Linked DNA regions of Homo sapiens: all the other regions are linked to region 3. Evidence: promoter capture Hi-C in 16 types of primary human blood cells and fetal thymus (Javierre and others, 2016). All regions are on one chromosome and are shown on one strand. The core of a region is centred on a gene start or on the middle of the fragment in contact, and the rest is flanking DNA. Distances in the headings are between cores, read along the strand shown. Region 1 overlaps RGS10 (regulator of G protein signaling 10). Region 2 has its middle 44 kb from the start of RGS10. Region 3 holds the start of SFXN4 (sideroflexin 4). Region 4 overlaps GRK5 (G protein-coupled receptor kinase 5). Region 5 overlaps BAG3 (BAG cochaperone 3).

What was found. The method cuts DNA at HindIII sites, captures the fragments that hold promoters and counts their contacts. A CHiCAGO score of 5 or more calls a contact.
Region 1: a fragment that was not itself captured here is called in contact with the fragment with the promoter of SFXN4 in region 3 in 8 of 17 cell types (total B cells, endothelial precursors, erythroblasts and 5 more); the score reaches 6.8 in total B cells.
Region 2: a contact is called between a fragment that was not itself captured here and the fragment with the promoter of SFXN4 in region 3, in 8 of 17 cell types (activated CD4 T cells, total B cells, endothelial precursors and 5 more). The highest score is 9.1, in activated CD4 T cells.
Region 4: a fragment that was not itself captured here is called in contact with the fragment with the promoter of SFXN4 in region 3 in 2 of 17 cell types (total B cells and naive CD8 T cells); the score reaches 6.3 in total B cells.
Region 5: a contact is called between a fragment that was not itself captured here and the fragment with the promoter of SFXN4 in region 3, in 1 of 17 cell types (non-activated CD4 T cells). The highest score is 5.8, in non-activated CD4 T cells.

The regions. Positions count from the first base shown.
Region 1 is chr10:119,515,281-119,517,980 of GRCh38, reverse strand. RGS10 (regulator of G protein signaling 10) reads left to right here. Exons shown (of 5, transcript NM_001005339.2): 4 at 2,329-2,472. Among named protein-coding and RNA genes, the nearest start is that of RGS10, 26 kb to the left of the region's middle. RefSeq lists enhancers at 1-179, 969-1,551 and a silencer at 2,317-2,530. The HindIII fragment of the contact is 2,507 bases long and covers 142-2,648 here.
Region 2 is chr10:119,496,963-119,499,662 of GRCh38, reverse strand. No RefSeq gene overlaps it. Among named protein-coding and RNA genes, the nearest start is that of RGS10, 44 kb to the left of the region's middle. The HindIII fragment of the contact is 2,474 bases long and covers 77-2,550 here.
Region 3 is chr10:119,164,440-119,167,139 of GRCh38, reverse strand. It overlaps SFXN4 (sideroflexin 4), which reads left to right and starts at 1,426. Exons shown (of 14, transcript NM_213649.2): 1 at 1,426-1,603. The coding sequence starts at 1,493. RefSeq lists silencers at 1,278-1,747, 1,789-1,975. The HindIII fragment of the contact is 6,667 bases long and covers 1-2,700 here.
Region 4 is chr10:119,426,837-119,429,536 of GRCh38, reverse strand. The region is part of intron 6 of GRK5 (G protein-coupled receptor kinase 5); the gene reads right to left. Among named protein-coding and RNA genes, the nearest start is that of MIR4681, 50 kb to the right of the region's middle. RefSeq lists a cis regulatory region at 89 and an enhancer at 5-174. The HindIII fragment of the contact is 3,735 bases long and covers 1-2,700 here.
Region 5 is chr10:119,655,079-119,657,778 of GRCh38, reverse strand. The region is part of intron 1 of BAG3 (BAG cochaperone 3); the gene reads right to left. Among named protein-coding and RNA genes, the nearest start is that of BAG3, 5.0 kb to the right of the region's middle. The HindIII fragment of the contact is 765 bases long and covers 1,054-1,818 here.

The DNA of each region.
Region 1 (2,700 bases), core at 146-2,645, 350 kb before region 3:
TAGCTCCGCCGAGATAAGCTGAGCCCTGCAGCTGCTCACAGTGGGCATCTGGTCAGCCAGGGCCTTGAACCCCACATTGTTCTCACGCAGACTCAGGAGGGACAGCCGGTGGAAGAGGGCAGGGCTGAGACCCTCAAAGCTTATATACCTGCAGTCACTGGAACCTACTTCCTCTCCCCCGGCCTCTTCTGCCCCACCTCAAAGACTCAAGCCATTCATTGCACTTCTCTATTTCAGAATCACTCAAGATATCCTGGATTCATGTGTGTATGTGTGTGCGTGTGTGCACGTGTGTGCGTGTGTGTGTGCGTGTGAATGTCAAGGGGAGGAGGGGAGGTCTAAAGTGATTTCTGCCCCCAGACCTCTGCATGGAGTTTGCTCATCTGCCTGGCCGAAATTCTCCTTTCATGAAGTGGCTTTAAAACAGGAAGTGGTTTTCCAAAAGGGTTGCTTCCTGACGGAATGGGGGTGGTGGAGGGAGGCTGTGGCTTCATGGAGCTGGTGGGTCTTGGAGAGGACAGCAGGGCCAGCTCCTAAGTGCCACCCCCTTGGGTCTCGAGGATGGCCCCCAGACCTGTCCCTTAGATAGCCACGCTTGTCTGGAGAGACTCCTGTGTCACTGAGTCTGGCATCGATTCATTGCTCCTATTGACAGTGAAGACAGGGTGGACAGCATGGCTTTCGGTGTTCACCCAACCTGGGCCGTCTCCCTGCAAGTGCTGGTGAGGCTTGCTTTCTCGCAGAACAGGACATGGCCAGGCCGTGGCTTCTCAGGATCTTTTGTCCCCAGTGCCCTGAACTAAAAAAGGGCTACCCTTCCTTCCTTTCATGCCCCAGCTATCAAAACCTTCTGGTGGTTTCCTTAAGGGCAGAAGGTTTGCAGAGCTTGGGATTTCCCAAACCAAGCCCCACAGCACATGCGGAGCCCCAGTTGGGCTCTTGGAGAGAAAGGCAGTTTTCCAGGCCCCCCACACACATGTCATAGCTGTGTGGCTGCATTTTAGAGGCATTTGTTGTCTGCCTTGCTCTGTAGGGTAAGGTCATGCTTTAGACTCTAACGTTCAGAGAAACAGCCCCGCTTTTGCTGTTGGCGAGGTATGAGCACAGGAAGTCTCCTTTCTCTAAAAGAAAATCGAGCCCTCAGGGGAAGTTCTGGAGGAGAGGGCTCCTGCGCCTGCAGCCCCGCCCTGAGGCGCCTGTCCTGAAGACACAGTTCTCACTGTGAAGTCATCTCCTTACCATCAGTGAGTGCTCCTGAGCCAGCCTCGGTTAGTTTCGGGTGAAACAGGAAGCCGGTACCTACTCACGGCTCCTGCTTCCCAGCAGGACTGCACTCGGGACTTGAGGGCGGGCAGCGAGTGTTTTCTCCACTGCTGTGCTCAGTATCTCGTTAGCTAAAAGGAAATGCACCCTGCCTGGGAAGGCCGCATACCGCACAACCTGGAGGGGCCAATGTGTCTTGCGGAAGTGGAACTGAGCAGAATTCAGAGGCCTTGGAGCCAAACAGTCCTAAGGCTCCCGGAAGCTCTCAGATAAGCCATGCCACCTCTCCTGACCTCTGTGTCCTCATGGGGAAAGTGGGGCTAACAGGAAAATGCCCTTTGCTGCATGTCCAGGGGATTAAGGAAATGGGATCCCTCCAAGCAGGTGCCTGCAGCCCAGTGGGCGCTTAATAACTGGTAGGGATAGTAGGTGTGCATACTTTAACTTGATTTTTTTTTTTTTTTTTGAGAGACAGTCTCACTCTGTCACCCAGGCTGGAGTTCAGTGGTGCAATCTCAGCTCACTGCAACCTCTCTTTCCTGGGTTCAAGCAATTCTCCTGCCTCAGCCTCCTGAGTAGCTGAGATTACAGGTTTGCACCACCACGCCTGGCTAATTTTTGTCTTTTTACTAGAGATGGGGTTTCACCATGTTGGCCAGGCTGCTCTCGAACTCCTGACCTCAGGTGATCAATCTGCCTCGGCTTCCCAAAGTGCTGGGATTACAGGCATGAGCCACTGTGCCCGGCCACAGGATGGCTGTAAATGGTACTGAGTGCTCTCTGCGGGCCAGGATTCTTTCTGTCATCACTTCTGAATGGTTAATGCAGCAATTTTGTTCCAGGAGAAGTGGCTGCAGGCGCATGAAGGGGCGGGGGTAGGGGCTTGGCAGTGCAGGCTCTCCCATATAGAAATTCTCTCTGGAGTGGCCTGAGAGCCCCTGGGCTGTGGGGGGTGCCTTTCTCTTGCCACAGCAGCTCCTGTGGGCCTGGCTGGAGGGGAGAGCAGGGCTCAGGCCGGGAAGGCTGTGTGTGCAGATAGCACAAGGCCCCATCTGTCTCCTCCAGATGCAGGAAAAGGCAAAGGAGATCTACATGACCTTTCTGTCCAGCAAGGCCTCATCACAGGTCAACGTGGAGGGGCAGTCTCGGCTCAACGAGAAGATCCTGGAAGAACCGCACCCTCTGATGTTCCAGAAACTCCAGGACCAGGTAACCCGACTTCCCTGCCTGCACCTTGATTTGAAAACCTACATTAATTCCAGGCCTGGAAGAATTTACTGAAACACCCGATGTTAGACTCCCTGGAAACCATCTCATACGGCCGGGCAGACCGAGGTACACTGAGGGGCCATGGTTGGGGAGAGTGGGGACCAGAATTCTAAGCTTGAGATTTGCCCCACAGGAGTCCCCCCAGGCCTGTTTAATCTTGGTCTACAC
Region 2 (2,700 bases), core at 64-2,563, 330 kb before region 3:
AAATATTTCTCGAGAGCAAGTTCAGTGCTGGAAAAAGAAAATGAATCACTGACAGCCTCTAAAGACTTGGGAAGCTTGTGTGTGAGTGTCATCAAAGGGTTATTATTTCTTGTGCGTGGGTTGGTCCTGGTTTTGACCACAACCCATGACATTTCATGCAACACAGATAAATAGTTCATCTTGACAGAAACAAGATCTCAACCAGGAAGGAAAAAAAACACAAGTGGGAAATTGTTCAGGGTCCCCATGGCAACTCAAGGTGTTGTTGAATGGGATTGTAGCACAGGTGCGTACTGAGGTTGGAGTTGGTGGGGCTGTTCCCTTCTCCTGTACCCATCGGGGACACATCATAATCCTTTCCTCTCTGCTCCTGCCCTTTGCTGAACTTGCTAACTCTGGCTTGAGACTTCAACGGGGAAAAGAAATGCTGCCTTGAAGCCTGCCCTTCTTGGGTGAGGAGGCTGTGAATGGGGCACGCTTGGGCCAGGCGGGGCACGCTTGGGCCAGGCTGTCCCCGCCAGCCCAGGAACTCCACTTTTAGAGCAGAGCCCACCAGGGCCAAGGTCAGGCTCAGTTCCCTTTGGTGAATTGTTCCTGCTATTTGTAGGGGGTTGGGTGCTGCCACCAGGCCTTTTCCAGGATGTTTGCTAAGCCCTTTCTATTTGTACAAAGTGACCAGCTTCTGTTGCGTGTGAGCCTCCCAACTCAGACTTTCCTGTTTGCAAAATTCACTAATGTTGAAGGTGGCTGTATAATTTATCAATCAAACTAGGACACTTTTGGGAGAAAAGAGGGGGTGATCTCAATAATTAGACTAGGATAATGCCTATTACAAGCCCTAATCTGGTTCTAGTCTGGGTCAGTTACCCTACTGATGGCTGTCCCCCATATGAGCTCCTGGGCAGCCCCCCAGATTCCCTAGCCTCGCTGTCTAGACACTGTGGTCAAATGTTTCCTGCCCTTCCATCCAGGGCCTGGGAAAGGGATGGTCTTCAGGGAACCGTTCACTGCCAAGCACTAAATAACCCAACAACATTCATCAGAAACAGCAAACACAGGCTTCTCCACCCTCCTCAGGTACTTCCCAGACAGGCCTACTCTGCGCCTGTCTTCTCTCTGCCTATTTCCAGAACTTAGGAAGGAGACGGTTATGCTGAGAATGACACACAAGGGCCCCGTGATCAGAGAAATTCAGTTCATTGTCAAGCAGAGCAGATTGGTGCATTTATTATTTATTTTTGAGACAGAGTGTCGCTCTGTTGCCCAGGCTGGAGTGCAGTGGCATGATCTTGGCTCACTGCAACCTATGCCTCATGGGTTAAAGCGATTCTTCTGCCTCAGCCTCCTGATTAGCTGGGATTACAGGCATGCACCACCATGCCTGGCTAATTTTTGTATTTTTAGTAGAGACGGGGTTTGACCATGTTGGTCAGGCTAGTCTCAAATTCCTGACCTCGTGATCCTCCTGCCTCGGCCTCCCAAAGTGCTGGGATTACAGGCATGAGCCACCGCGCCAGGCCTATTTTTTATTTTTTGAGATGGAGTCTCACTCTGTCTCCCAGGCTGGAGTGCAGTGGCATGATCTCAGGTCACTGCAACCTCCGCCTCCCAGGTTCAAGCGATTCTTGTGCCTCAGCCTCCCAAGTAGCTGGAATTACAGGCACCCACTATCATGCCCAGCTAATTTTTGCATTTTTAGTAGAGTCGGGTTTTCACCATGTTGGCCAGGCTGGTCTCGAACTCCTGCCTTCAAGTGATCTGCCCCCCTCAGCCTTCCAAAGTGCTGGGATTACAGGTGTGAGCCACCGCGCCTGGCTAGATTGATGCATTTTAAAGAGTAAAGATGAAAAACAACACAGGTTCTCTAGCTCAGCTTTCGGTTTATTAACCGGATGCAGTTCGGTTATTCAGGGATGTGGGGACAGCCCACTGCACCATTGCAGACGTAGGGAGGCTTCATGGCGACCTGATTGACTCCCTTTGGAAGAGCCTGTTGTGGGCAGGTCCCAGAGACTGAAGGTGGGCGAGGAGGCTGCTCTCTGACTTTTCCCCTTTTATCAATGGGTGCAGAGACTCTTTGAGATGACCATCTCTTTTTAAGAGTTTGAATAAAGCAAATAGCCAGAGTTAGCCAGAAGATCGGACATTAAAAGAAAAGCCTTCCGCCCGCCCCCACTTAGGAGCTGCCTGAAGAGCTGAATGCCAGCAGGGTGGTGAGCCTCAGAGTTTAATCACCATTTACTCCTACTAGCGTGAACTTATGCCACTCCCTCTGGCTTGCTCCTGCCTGATTGCCTACGTCTATGCCAGTCGCAGAAATGAGGCATATGCAGAATTTAGTGTCCTGAAGCAATTGCAAATGTGAGGCTGAAGTGTAGGGACCCGCGTAGCCAAACAGATGCTTCTACCCAGCCCTTTGCTTTCGTCCCTATGCCCATCCATTCATCGATTAGCGTTGAAATTGTATCTTTGGCTGGGTGTGGCGGCTCACACCTGTAATCCCAGCGCTTTGGGAGGCCGAGGCAGGTGGATCACCTGAGGTCAGAAGCTTGAGACCAGCCTGGCCAACATGGTGAAACTCTGTCTCTACTAAAAATACAAATATTAGCTGGGCATGATGGCGCATGCCAGTAATTCAGCTACTCAGGAGGTAGAGGCAGGAGAATCGCTTGAATCCGGGAGGCGAAGGTTGCAGTGAGC
Region 3 (2,700 bases), core at 177-2,676:
CTCAGAGCGGATGCAGATTTACTAGGAGGCCGGTGACTATGGCTGTGGTGGGGGTCCCAGAGTGCCTTTTGGCCAGGCCAAGGACTTTAGGTTCTGTTCTGGGGTGGGGAATGTCAGGAAGGATTTGAAAAGAAGAGTGACATCAACTTGTTCTAAGAGAATCACTCTGGCTCCTTTGTTAAGACGACATAGCAGTCCAAAGTGGGGAAGCAGGCCAGCGGGCTGGCTTTGTGACATCCTGGAGGGTAGAGACAACAGAATAGAACAGCACGCTACATACTGCACTGGTGCTTAGATGGATTTCTGCGGCATAAGGGTAGAAGTGGAGGGGGCACCTTACTCAACTCGGAGGGTCAGGGAAGGCTTCCTGGAAGAGGAGATAAACCCCTGGAGGTTAAGAAAAGTGAGCTAGGCAAACTGAGCAAATACAGAAGCAGAGTCATACAGGCCTGAAGGACGCCATGAGCCAATTTCCTGTTCCTGGAGGCGCAGGGCAAGGGAAGGAATTGGCCCGCTGGAGGTTAATGGCCAATACTGAGCACTTCTGAGGGCTCAGTGCTGTGTTAGGGATGTTTTATCTCCTTTGATCAGAAACAAAACCCTGAGATAGGTACAATTGTTATCCTCATTTTGCGGATGGGAAAATAGACTTCGAGATACTGACTTGGCGAGGGTCACACAACTAGATGATGTGCTGGGTCCCCCAGTCCTGGACTCCGGAGGCCCCCTGAACGACCTAGGCACACTTGTGGCTTCCGTGAATTTAAGTGCACACAGCCCCCGCCTGGCCCTGTGCTGGGGAAGGGCAGGTGGGAGGAGGAAGGGAAGGCAGGTTTTTCTTTACAAATGGTACCTATTTGGTAGTCAACAAAAGGAACTGGATTTGCCCCAACACTGGAAGAAAAAAAAAAACAACCTGTTGGGCTGAGGGATAGTGCACTGTGCCCAGGGCCCTATACTTGGTTTGATGCTCTGGTGTTACTCTCTTGAAATTCTCAGTAACATGAATAAGGGGCACCGCATTTGACATTTTCCCTGGGCTGAGACCATGATGCAGCCGGCCTGACTGCGCAACACCATGCACACTGGAATTCGTGGGCCATCGGAGGGATTTTCGAGGGTAATGACCAGGGGTAGGGCGCGGCAGAAGCGCAGGGTGAGGTTGCGGACGGCCTCACTCACAACCTTTCCGGGTCTTCGCATTAGGTACTGTGATGACGGGTTCCGATAGTGACCCCTTGGGGCCTGGAGACGGCCCGGCTCCCCAAAGGTGCGGAGCAGGGCAAGCAGGGTTGGGAGGACGTGGCCCGTGGGAGAGCTGCGCTCGCCGGAACAGTGGGCGCGCAAGGGCCCCGAGGCGCTGTGACACGGGACGTCGGGCGCGCGGGCCTGGGGCGGGAACTGCGGGTGCGCGCGGCCCGGGGCGGGGCTCGCCGCCCGGCTCCTCCTCCACGCGCGGCCTGGCGGCGGCGGCCACTCTAACCAGCGCAAAATGTCCCTGGAACAGGAGGAGGAAACGCAACCTGGGCGGCTCCTAGGACGCAGAGACGCCGTCCCCGCCTTCATTGAGCCCAACGTGCGCTTCTGGATCACCGAGCGCCAAGTACGGCCCGGGCCCGGCGCGACTAGGGGCAGGGAGGGGGCGGGCCGGGCCGCGTGGAGTCGGGCTGACCCGGGTGACCTTGGCCAGGCCACGTGGGCGCCCCCTGTCTCCGTTTCCTCCTCTCGGAGTTGTGCCGGGAACGCGCACCACCGGCCTTCACCCCTTAGGGCGCGGCAGGGGACGCAGGGGAAATCGAAGCTGCCAGATGCCCACGACCACAACGTCACCCTCCAGATTGCCCTCTCGGAGGGGCCCAGTCCGCGCAGGTGGCTGCTCCCTACTGCCTGAGCTGTGGCTGAGCAGCAGATTGGGGAGAAACAGGCTCTCGCACCTTGGTAAGCTCAGCCACTTTCGGTGAGACCCCCGAGGCTTTGGGAAGCCACCCTTGGGCAGGACATAAGCAGGACTTATCTCCCTGCAGCGTCTAGGGCAGCACCGTCCAATAGAAATATGATGTGAGCCTTACAGGTAATTAAACATTTTCTAGTAGCCACATTAAACAAGATAAAAACAGCTGAAATTTTTAACAATACAGTACATTTAGCCTAGCAGGTGCAAAATATTAACATTTCAACATGTAATCAGTAAAAAACATTGCTGAGATATTTTACTCGCTTTTTTGGTACAGAGTGTTCCAAATCCGGCGTCTGTTACCTTCACAGCACATCTGGGTTCAGCCGCATGTGGCGAATTGGAGAGCAGGGCTTTAGGGGGTTCTCTTTGAGGCCTCTCCTAAAGTGGGGTCCAGCCCTGTTTTTTTTTTAGGTGGGGAAATTGAGAAGGGGCGGTGAGCTCAGGTTGCTCCAGCAGAGCCAAGGCTTAAAGCCAGAACCACTACAAAGTTTAGAGTTTGCTGGAGCAAACCTCTTTTTCCCCAGTGTGACCCCAGCTGCACCATTGAGCCCTTAATGGGGCGTCCATCCTTTGTCACTGGAGTGAAGCCTTATAGCAAGCAGAGAGTGAGGCCACAGACTCTTGAGATATTCTAGGCCATTGCTTCGAGGTCGTATGTGAGATATGAACGTAAGACCATTTGAACCCCCAAAGTCTGGGATTTTAACCCTCAAGGGCAATTTGATACTGAGAGGTTAAGGGCA
Region 4 (2,700 bases), core at 47-2,546, 260 kb before region 3:
TTGCCATAAAGGACATCACGGTGCAGAGGGCTTGTGGTTTGCATTGCTGGTCTGTTTGGCTACAAATAATCAGCTTAAAACGTGAAAATTGGCTCTTGGCTCTCCAAGACTAAACTCCTGCTCCTAAATTCCTCAAAAGTCCCGACCAGGGCAGGGGTTGGATCGAGCAGAACTGGGCCAAAGAACTGGGTCAGCTGAGGATGACCAGGGAGCCTTCAGTCACCCAGCAGCTCTTGAACGAATGAGTCTTCCCTGGAAATCACATCTGTGGCACCACAGCCGCACTCTGAGGAAGGCCCTGAAAAGCCAGGGTACTCTCTGGCACCCCATCTTGAATTTGCGTGCCATGGCTCACTTCTCCCTTCACCAGTGCTTCCTCAGGACACAGGGCCCAAACCCCACCGAAGCAGAGCTGCCCCTCTGCGGGTATCCCGCTCTTCTGCACAGGAGCGGCTGGACAGCCAAAGGGAAGAGCTGCCACACGCCTGCCTCGACCACGTGGCCCTGGGAAGCCTTCCCTACAGCCGCCCCCGGAAACCACATGAAGGCGGCCCGCCTAACAGTTTACGATGCATGGAGGAGAAACGGTTGGTTGACATCTCCGCAGAACTCCTCTGCTGGGGGAAATGAGTGGAATGCAAGCTCCCAGGAATTTCTTGGTTAACCTTGGGAGGAAAAAAACCCTTGACTATTTCAGCAGTACAGCACCAACCAGGCAGGATCTTGTGCAGGGTGCTATCTGATATGTAGGGCATTCCTAGGCCAGGGTCCTGCCCTACAGGCTCCAAAAACTTAATGCCTTCTTTGCAATCAGGCCACAGAGTAAAAAGGATAATTTCTCCATTTCATGTGTTTGGTGCAGATAAGAAAAAGGAAAGCCAGTGACCACCGACAAAGGCTGCTATGGGAACTGGAGTGCTGGGTGGACCAAGGCCCAAGGACTTGGGAGGGGGCCTCTGGGTTCAGGTTCCAGCCTTGCCAGGCCCTTGCTGAGTGGCCCAAGGCTGCTCCAACTCCTCTGAGGAAAATGATCATGAGAAGGCCTTACATCCAGTGGAGGGCTCTTTGTAAACTGGTGATGTGTCAGATGTCATTATTTGAACTCCTAGGAATAAAGGGCATGCCCCCCTCTGGGGGTCTCTATAGTAACAATACCTACTGCTCCAAGCACACATGGGGGCTTCTATAATCCTCACACAAGCTCAGGGAGCAGGGATCATTATTGTCCCCATTCTGCAGATGAGAACGCTGAGGCTTCAAGAGGTGAAATGAGTTGCCCGAGGCCCTAGCTGGTAGCGGTGGGCTGGAGTTGGGGTCTAGGCAGCCCATGCTCTGTATCCTGACCCCACACTGCCACTCTGGGAAGGTGGACACAGATTGGGGTTGTGTGTTGCACAGCCCAGGGCTCCAGAACCGGGCGTGGGCATGGCGAACACAGCTCCACTAGACTGCCCTGTAATTGGCAGAATCAGGACTGATCCTCCAGCAAGAGTTGGCTGTGCCTCCCAGTATCAGACCTGGTGAAGTGGGACTAATGGCAGTGATGCTGTTGATGGCGGTGATGCTGATGATGGCAGTGAGGCTGATGATGGCAGTGAGGCTGATGATGGCAGTGATGCTGACGGTGGCGATGATACTGATGATAGCAGTAATGCTGTTGATGGCAGTGGGATATTGATAACAGCAGTGATGCTGATGATGGCAGTGATGCTGATGATGGTGGTGATGCTGTTGATGGTGGTGATGCTGATGATGGTGGTGATGCCGCTGATGGTGGTAATACTGATGATGGCAGTGATGTTGACGATGGTGGTGATACTAATGATGGTGGTGATGCTGTTGATGGCACTGGGATATTGATAACAGCAGTGATGCTGATGATGGAGGTGATACTGATGATAGCAGTGATGCTGATGATGGCAGTGATGCTGATGATGGTGATGATGCTGATGATGGTGGTGATGCTGATGATGGCGGTGATACTGAGGATGGTGGTGATACTGATGATGGCGGTGATGCTGCTGATGGCTGTGATGCTGATGATGGCGGTGATGCTGATGATGGTGGTGATGCTGATGATGGCGGTGATGCTGATGATGGCAGTGATGCTGCTGATGGTGGTGACGCTGTTGATGGCAGTGATGCTGATGATGGTGGTGATGCTGATGATGGTGATGATGCTGATGATGGTGGTGATGTTGATGAAGGCAGTGATGCTGTTGATGGCAGTGATGCTGTTGATGGCGATGATGCTGAAGATGGTGGTTGATGCTGATGATGGTGATGATGCTGATGATGGTGGTGATGTTGATGAAGGCAGTGATGCTGTTGATGGCGGTGATACTGATGATGGCGGTGATGCTGATGATGGCGGTGGGATATTGATAACAGCAGTGATGCTGATGATGGCAGTGATACTGATGATAGCAGTGATGCTGATGATGGCGGTGATGCTGATGATGGTGATGATGGCAGTGATATTGATGATGGTGGTGATGCTGCTGATGGCTGTGATGCTGCTGATGGCTGTGATGCTGTTGATGGTGGTGATGTTGATGGCGGTGATGCTGTTTATGGCAGTGATGCTGTTGATGGTGGTGGGATATTGATAACAGCAGTGATGCTGATGATGGTGGTGATGCTGTTGATGGCAGTGATGCTGTTGATGGCAATGATACTGATGATGGTGGTGATGCTGAT
Region 5 (2,700 bases), core at 187-2,686, 490 kb before region 3:
GCCCTGCTGTAAGATGCTGTGTCATTGGGAGAAACAAAAAAGAGCTTCTCCAGACCTGTAAGGATGAACTTAGGGAATCAATACTGAAGTCCTTTGTGCAGAGAAGGCCATTCACAAAGTGACAAAAAGGAGCAGGCCTCTGGGGACCTTTAGGAGCCCAGGACAACTCTGCAGTTCTTAGGAACCAATGGAAGGCTTCCCGGGACACACCTGCATCCTTCACGGGCAGCTCTTCTGTATCTGCCTTCGCGCTCTGGGCAGGCCCATGTTCTACCCTTCTCCACAGTCACTCGTTCCATCTTTTCTGAGCCTGTGGACCCTGCCAGGCATCAAGAGGCAGCGATGAAGCACACAGACTCTGCCCCAGAACTCCTAACAGGGGTGTGACCCCAAGACAAAGCAGAAAAGTGCAGAGCTTAAGCAAAAAGATTCAAATTAAAATAATATGGGTTCCAGAAGAGAGACAGCCTGCTTCGGACCAGGGAGAGGCAGGACATGCTTTGTGGAGAACAGTCTCAAAGTGGGCAGACTTGTCCTCTATATGGCATTTAACACTGTGACTCGCACACTGTGGGCACTCAGTGAATTTCAGATGGGGTAAAGGAGTGAGTAAAGAGTCGGGCCCATCTCCTAAATCCAGACCCAGGTTCAAGAAACAGGCCAACATTTCTGATTAACTATACAAAGATGGACTCAGGGCTGTTTATCACCTCAAGCTGTGCCTGGGGAGTATAAAGCAGCCGTGCCTGGGGAGTATAAAGCAGCCAGGCCCGCTAAAGGCAAGTCTGTCTGTCACCCCTTCAGGAACTCAGATGGGGGTAAAGCCACAGAAGTCTTTCTGTTTATCACAGGCCAGGCACACTGCCTCTCCAAATCTGCTGTCCCATGTGTAAGACACTTCATAGTTTCTAGTTCAAAGAGCTGGTGAGGATTTAGAGATAAGGTTACCAAAAGCACCCACTCATATCTGGCACATATATATATATATGTGTGTGTGTTGACAGACAGAAAAATACTACATTCATTCCTCTCCCCCCAAATTCTTCCTAAGCTTTTGCAAGCTGCCTGGCTTCCTAAAAGGCTGCCAAGGTCCCAAAGATACCTTCATCGAAATACGTGACGACTTAGTAACACCAGATACCTCACATGGTATCACATGTGCCACATGATGCATACAGATGAATCCTGCACCTGCAAAACAAGGGGCTCTGGAGCCTGCCTCAGACGGCCGGCTGATGGGCATGGTGGCGCTCACCTATAATCCTAGCTACTTGGGAGGCTGAGGCAGGAGAATCGCTTGAACCCAGGAGACGGAGGTTGCAGTGAGCCAAGATCGCACTACGGCACCCCAGCCTGGGAGACAAAGTGCGACTCCGTCTCAAAAAAAAAAAAAAAAAAAAGAAGGCCAGCTGAGTCTATGCTCTGAGGCAGAAGCAGATCAGAGGTGTCTACTTGACTCACAACAAAAGGGAACCCAGGAGGGGCTGGAGAATAACACGGTCAAGTGTGACACAGGGTTCACTCGTGTTCGCCAGTGCCAGAGGGTCTCAAAGATCCTAATAAGCAAGGCCTTTGTCTTCAGTTTCTTCTGTAAGCTCTCTTAAACATTTAAGAGCAATATTAAAACAGCAAAACTTAAAGGAGAAAGAGTAGGTCTGGATGATGAATGGTTTTCTACTTTGGATGATAAACATCAGAACATCATTTTTAAATGTCAATAGAAAGTAATAAACATGTAGAGTGGTTTATATAAGGTGACTGTGTGTCATTCCAGAAACGAGGACAGCACTAAGCAAGCCTCATGGGTGGTATGAAGCTTTCTGACTCACAAGCAGCCCTGATAGCATCCAACAGTTAAGCCTTCCCAGCCCTGGCCAACGTCAAACGCTGCCGCAGGTCCTGTGTACAGGCTCCACCCTCATAAAGGGCAAATCTACCCTACAAAACGGGACAAATGATGTTCTCGGAGGTGCAGTCGGTTCTCATGTGAACAACACAGGCTGTTCTTCAGAGGGGAAAATGAAAGTCCTGGATGAGCTGGGCTCCAAGGCATCTGGCCATGCTGTTCATCTGCCCCCCAACAAATCACTTTCATGCAGTCGCACAGGAACTTGCTCAGCCACAACTGCAACTTGCTGGAAATACGAAGGAGAGAACGGCCACTCATTTCCTGATTGTGCTCCGCCTCTGCTAAGAGGCATAACAGCTTGCAATAGATCTGGAAAGAGCAAAACGATCTCATCTTTAAGAAAATTCAGGAGGCTCTGCTGAACCTTAAGCAAAATAAATGGGTCTCTCTACTTCAATCATAACTCGAAACATTTCCAGTGTTATCTGAAAGGATGTTTCTATCTCCCTGTCACAGTGCCTGAGTATAATCTGTTAAATGATTATGGTGAGATTCTGCCAGATGGGCAAGACAAAAAGAAAAGGCTCTGGCTTGCTTCTTCCTGGGGTCCAGGAAGATCTCTGGACCACCTCCCCACTCTCGCACTGCCAGCCACCCTGCCAGACTTTGCAAGGTGCTGTCTCGGCTCGCTTCCCATGTCATCCCCATATTCACACCTCCAGAAGCCCGCGTACCTGGGGAGTTTCCCCAAGAAGGAAAATGGAGGCTTGGGAAAATGCTCTGCAGGATAGATGTTCAGGAGGCACTAAGCCGCAGCTCCTCCTCCCCAAAATGGGATCACTGGCCATCCG